2 separate regions of the Homo sapiens genome follow, and region 1 is linked to region 2. The links are contacts of gene promoters, found by promoter capture Hi-C in blood cells and fetal thymus (Javierre and others, 2016). All regions are on one chromosome and are shown on one strand. The core of a region is centred on a gene start or on the middle of the fragment in contact, and the rest is flanking DNA. Distances in the headings are between cores, read along the strand shown.

Region 1 (3,085 bases), core at 406-2,905, 360 kb before region 2:
CTACATACCATCTTACACGTGTGTTGACTTTATCAAGCAATGGGCATTTATGCTGATTGGAGGCATATATCCATGGCTGGGTTGCCCCATCCAGGAGAAGATGAAGGAATGTCCTACAAGTCTTGGTGGCTTCTTACTTTGTGGAGTCACCATTTTTCCCAGAAGAGTCTGTTTTCTTTTTAAAATGTCGCTTGATTTTGGTCTTCTGATGGCACACATTCAGCTCTGTCTCCATAGAATGCATGCCCTCTGGGAGAATAGGTAGGCTGTGTGTAAGGAGATAGGAGTGGGAAAAAGATGACAATGGGAAAAAGCATTAACCAAAATCCTAGGGTAAGAAAATACAAGATGCATTCAGGAGACAACTGGCAGGCCAGTTTGGCTATTATATAGCTTTTAAAGAGTATTTTTTAAAAAACAACAAAAACCTGAAAACATAATTAGGATTCAGATTAAGTAGCATGATGTAGTCAAAAGAGAGACCAAGGATAAAATCTAGCCCTGCCATTCCCCATCTGTCTGCCTTGAGCAAGTTATTTAATCTCTCTGTGTCTATATCTCCACTTGGTAAAATGGAAGTAATAACACCAATTTTATAGTATTTTGTGAGGATTAACTTAAGCGATGTATGAAAAGCTCCTGGCACACTAAGAATGATCAACATATGGTAATTTTCTCAAATTCTAGGATCTTTCTACCTCCACAGTGGCTTCTTCTGCAATAGGCGATTAGGAGAGCAGTCACCAGACAGACCTTGGATTTGAGTTTAGCTCAGCCAGTTATAAAGTCTTCAATTTTAGGTAAATTACTTAACTACTCTTAACTCAGTTTTCTTATGTATAAAATGGATTAGTCATACTTACCTTGTAAGATTATTGAAAAGTTTAGAAATATATCATGTTAAGCACCCAATAGTACCTGATAAGAAGAGGAGATGGAGTAGAATTCAATAAATCATGGTGATGGGGGAAGAAGGAGGAAAAAAGGAGCTGTTTTAATTGAGAACCTTGAATTCTTGACCAAGAAGCCTAGAATTTATGTTGTAGGCAGTGGAGAGTCACTGAAGGTGATTTTTCAGATAGGAAATCATAGGATAAAGATGAAGAGAATCTTAACCTTGTTGAGAATGTGTTAATAAGGTGCACAGGGCAAGGAAGAACAGCCTGGAAGGAGAGAGACCAAACTACTGAAGACAAAAGCCAGCTTGCTTTATGTATGTGCTGTATAATTCTTTTACTACCAAATGGATTTCTTCTTCTGGAATCTAACAATTCTGAATATGTGAGAGAGGCAGAGATAGAAATGAAGAGTGAGGGAAAGGACAGAGGGGAGAAAGAGAAAGAGAGAGAGGGGCCGAGAGAGATAGATACAGTAGTTCCCTCTCCGCAGGGGATGTGTTCCAAGATTCCCAGTGGATACCTGAAACTGCAGATAATACTGAACCCTATATATGCAGCAGAACTAGCATAAATTTCATTTTCCTTCTTCACAGTTTCACAGATAGAAGATTCATTCTTGCCATAGATCTTAGCAACCTCAGCATATGATTTTTTTCTTTCCTTAATTCAGTTGAGAACTTTCACCTTTTAATTTAAAAGATGCACTTCATGGCTTCTCTTTGGCATATCTGAATCCCAGAATCACTGCTCTTGCACTGTGGGGCCATTATGAAGTCAGATAATGGTTACTGGAACATAAGCACTTCGATACCATGACAGTGAATCTGACAACTGAGACGGCTGCAGACCATGGGGCAGGGAGCATATGGAGCACGGATATGCCAGACAGAGGGATGATTCATATCCCAGGCAGGATGGAGCAGGGCAGTGTGCTATTTCATCGTGCTACTCAGAACTTATGAATTGTTTATTTCTGGAATTTCCCATTTAATATTTTTGGACTGTGGTTGATCGAGGGTAAATGAAATTGCAGAAAGCAAAAATACAGATAAGGGGGACTGCTTGCTGTACAAAGATAGAGACAAGAGGAAGGAGCTGTCCTCAAGGGCCTTTTGTGTGAAGACATCTGGCACACAGATACGCTGCATGCAGGTGGCTTGAGAGAACATGCATCCAGGTATAAATCTGGCATCGACAGGTTGAATTTTCAGTTGACAGGTGGACTACTTTAAATAAAACTGGGGAATTGGTGTGGAAGGGATGAGAACACCGCCTCCCCTTTGTTATCCCACCTCCACCAAGAAGTGCCCGAACCCCTGAGAACAGCTCACTCCACCCTGTCTCTGGGTCATCTGCATCATCTGCTGACTGCACTTCTCTCGTCTGGTCTGGGAGGAGATTGATTTCTGGTCAACAGCACGCCCCCTGACAAAAATGACTTTCTGCCATTTCCTTCCACTCCATTTTCAATCTGATTGCTATTCTGTTTGGAGGAGTGCTATGGTCGGAATGTTTATGTCTCCCTCAAATTCATATGTTGAAATCCTAACCCCCAAGGAGGGGCCTTTGGGAGGTACTTAGATCATAAGGGTGGAGTCCTTGTGAATGGGATCAGTGCCCTTATTAAAGAGGCCCAAAGGGGCTGGTTTGCCCTTTCCACCATGTGAAGATGCAGTGAGAAGGCACCATCTGTGCCCTCATCAGATACTGCCAGCCCTTTGATCTGGGACTTCACAGCCTGCAGAACTGTGAAAAATAAATGTTTGTGGTTTACAAGCCATCAGTTTATGGTACTTTTGTTGTAGCAGCCTGGACAGACAATGTAGGAGGGTGAGTTTGTCTTCCTGAGAATGGTGCATGACTTAGCTTATTCTGAAAGCAAAATGTCTTTAAGTTTAGTTTATGTTTTTTATGCTTTTTATGTTATTTTTCCTTTTTCTTTTCCACTAGGCATCCAAACACTGGATGTCTAATAACTAATGAGTGGCAGCATCCTACCAAAGCCAGTTTCTGTTGCCAAAGTTGTTACTGCCCTAAAGGCTGGTGCCTGGCTTTTTCAGTTGAGAGAGGGCAGCAAGTTAATACCTGTGCTGGCCCAAATCCACTGTGAGGACATGCAGGTGCCCTGGAGCCGCTCTTTAAAAGGCTGCCACCTCCTGGTGGAGTGTTTCCCATGTGCAACCTAA
Region 2 (3,104 bases), core at 433-2,932:
GTGATTGTGTGAGCCAACACTCCTTAATAAACTCCCCTTCATATATACATCTATCCTATTAGTTCTGTCCCTTTAGAGAACCCTGACTAATACACAACATCTTTCTAAAGTCAGGCTTAGAAATTCTAATCCAGTAACTTAAGATGTTTCCTTTCTCTGATAACAGAGTTGATTCATATCTGGCTTCTAAGCCACCATTCATAGGTATAGTCAAGAAAAGACCACCAAAAACAAGACCAACCAATCCACCTCATTTTATGGTATGGGTTTCAAATTCCAATGACCTCAATTCAAAGGTAAATTTACAAAACTTCTGTAAAATACATGTACTATCAGAAATGGGTTCTCTGCCATTGGTGAGCCGACAGCTATATGAGCCTGTGTCATGTTCAAGATGCATAGAAAAAGACTGTTTGCTATTAGGCCACGGAGAACAGCATTAAGTTCAACATATATTGATCCATGTTCAAGTAGTTTCCTTTCTGCTTCTGGAAGCTGGTTAATTTTTCTAGTTATGATGCCTAAAATTACGTTTTCCTTGAAAGTGCTATCTGGCTCCTGATTTTCCATCTTGAGCCTTATATTCTCCTTCCTCCAGGTTCCAGTGCCTGTCCAGGTCTTCCTCAGACATGCCAGGGCTCACTACAACTTTTGTTCAACTCACCTGAGTGCAGCCATCTTTGGCTGACAGGTGACTCTACTGTTTACCAAATATTTCTAGTTCTTCTGGACACATGGTAGGATTGCCCTTCCCTGCCCCGCTTTGAAAATAGCTGGGTCAAACGTGACATGATTTGACCAATGAAGTGTGTGTGTGGAAGTGACATATTCTACTCCCAGGTGGGAGTATTAAGATCTAGCTCATTATTTCCTCTGGATTTACTGTTGTCTTTTTTTTTTTAGTGGGGGACAGAGTATCACTCTGTCCCCCAGGCCAGAGTGCAGTGGCGCAATCTCGGTTCACTGCAAACTCCACTTCCCGAGTTCACGCTATTCTCCTGCCTCAGTCTCCCATGTAGCTGGGACTACAGGTGGCCGCCACCACGCCTGGCTAATTTTTTGTACTTTTTTTTAGTAGAGATGGGGTTTCACCCTGTTAGCCAGGATGGTCTCGATCTCCTGACCTCATGATCTGCCCACCTCGGCCTCCCAAAGTGCTGGGATTACAGGTGTGAGCCACCGCGCCCGGCCTACTGTAGTCTTTTCTTCCACTAAGGCAATACGTAGAGGTCTAGATAAAGGCTTCTCTGTTCATCTGAATCATGGAATGAAGAATGCTAGGAACTCAGCCCCCAGCTGACCCTGACGGATGTGTAGCATAAACAAGAAATAAGCTTTGCTGTTTTAAATCACTGAGATTGAAATTTTTGTTAGTGTTGTCAGAGTATACATAATCCATGATATATGTGTACTTGTTTACATATATAAACGTATCCTCCCCCTTCCCATCAAATTTTAAGATAATTTAGCAATCCAGAAAGACACACCACATTTATCTGGTGACTGTGTACACTGCCCATAGTTTTTTCCCAATTTGAGAAGCATAGAACTAGTTGTTCTTCAGGATCCCTTCAAAAGCTAGCGTTATGTCATGCTATGTATGAGGAGAGAACAGGCACCATGTCACTTAACTAAACCAAATACAATTAAATTAATTTGATTGGAGAGCTGTTCTATCTGATTGTGGGGCAATTGATTCGATTGCTATAGAGTCCATTGGATTTGGTTGTTAGCGTCTCAGTTGTCTTAATGAGGGGATCGGATTGCACAGTGATCCCACTGATTGTTTTGGCAGTTGGCCTACCAACTGTTGGCCAGTCAGCCAGAGCCACAGTTTGACCCCAGGACAGGATGTAAAATTAATTTGCTTGAATGCAACGTTCAAGCATTTTTCTTGGTAAGCTGGTATGTGTCAAGTACTATCATATAATAAATTATACTTATCAACTGCAAATATTTAAAATTTACATTCTTCCTTGTATACATGCCACCAAGAACTCTAAATATTTTACAATGCTATGCACTGTGGGCCAAGCTTAAGTTTTAAACTCTGTGCAGACCTCCGCTTCTCTGAAGAGCTTCATTCCAACATTCCTTAGGGTCAAAAACTGACCATTGCTTGCCATTAATAACAACTGATTCTGATTCCATCATTTAAAATGAAACTATTTATGCAATGGTGGAAGAATGAACTCTACACTCCAGGAGACCAATGATTTGTCTATTCTATTCACTATTGTGTGCACTCAAACAATGCCTGGGCTTGTTGTAGATGCTGGCTACCTATAGTATCTGAAGATATTGGATGAATAAGTGAATAAACAATTAACTAATAATTCAGAAGCACCAAAATTTCTTAATTTCAGCTATTTTCTAGAAGTGAGGAAAGTGCTTTTCTGAATATGTGAAGCAGTATAACAATGATTAAATGTTTTGACTTGGGAGTTAGTTGAGTCTGAATTTGATTTCTGATTGTGATGTTGTTGCAGATTGCACTTCACAAAGATGCTTACAATGACATTTCCCATTCCACACACTCTTTCACAATATGGACTTGATACTCACCCATCCTGAGATAGTCAGTTTCTCTACTCTTGGTAACCTGAATCTGGGTCAATCTTTTGATTAAGTTTGAGCAACTTAATTCAGCAGAAGTGATGATGCACCAGTTACAGACATAGCTCTTAACTGATCTGGCAACTTTTGCTTCCTGCCTCTTGGAAGCCAGCCGCCAGATAAAAATTAGAATCCTCTGATATTTCAAGATTCTGGTTGGATTGCTGGATGGATAATGAAAACAGAGAAAAGTAACGTTTTAAGGGAAAATAGGATGGATTCATACCAAACATGTTGAATCTGCTTTGTTTTGGGGACACACAATTTTAGTAGGGAGTTGGCTACATAGGTTTACAATTTAGGAGAGTCATATGTACTGCAGATGCAGACTTGGGAGTTGACAGCTAATAGATCATAATTGGACACATGTGAGATGACCTAGAAAAAGCACATAGGATGAGAAAGAAAGTGGGCCTGGGGCATAAGTACAAGGAACATCATCATTTTAGGAAAAGGCAGAGGAAGAAAAACCACAAAAGGGTAGGTAG

Evidence for each region. The method cuts DNA at HindIII sites, captures the fragments that hold promoters and counts their contacts. A CHiCAGO score of 5 or more calls a contact.
Region 1: a contact is called between the fragment with the promoter of EGFLAM-AS2 here and a fragment that was not itself captured in region 2, in 3 of 17 cell types (M1 macrophages, M2 macrophages and M0 macrophages). The highest score is 6.3, in M1 macrophages.

What each region holds. Positions count from the first base shown.
Region 1 is chr5:38,401,816-38,404,900 of GRCh38, forward strand. It overlaps EGFLAM-AS2 (EGFLAM antisense RNA 2), which reads right to left and starts at 1,656. Exons shown (of 3, transcript NR_102750.1): 1 at 1,584-1,656; 2 at 9-266. The region is part of intron 6 of EGFLAM (EGF like, fibronectin type III and laminin G domains); the gene reads left to right. The HindIII fragment of the contact is 8,755 bases long and covers 1-3,085 here.
Region 2 is chr5:38,763,718-38,766,821 of GRCh38, forward strand. All of the region lies in intron 2 of OSMR-DT (OSMR divergent transcript), which reads right to left. It also overlaps the pseudogene LOC100132789. Among named protein-coding and RNA genes, the nearest start is that of LINC01265, 45 kb to the left of the region's middle. RefSeq lists a silencer at 1,610-1,904. The HindIII fragment of the contact is 701 bases long and covers 1,333-2,033 here.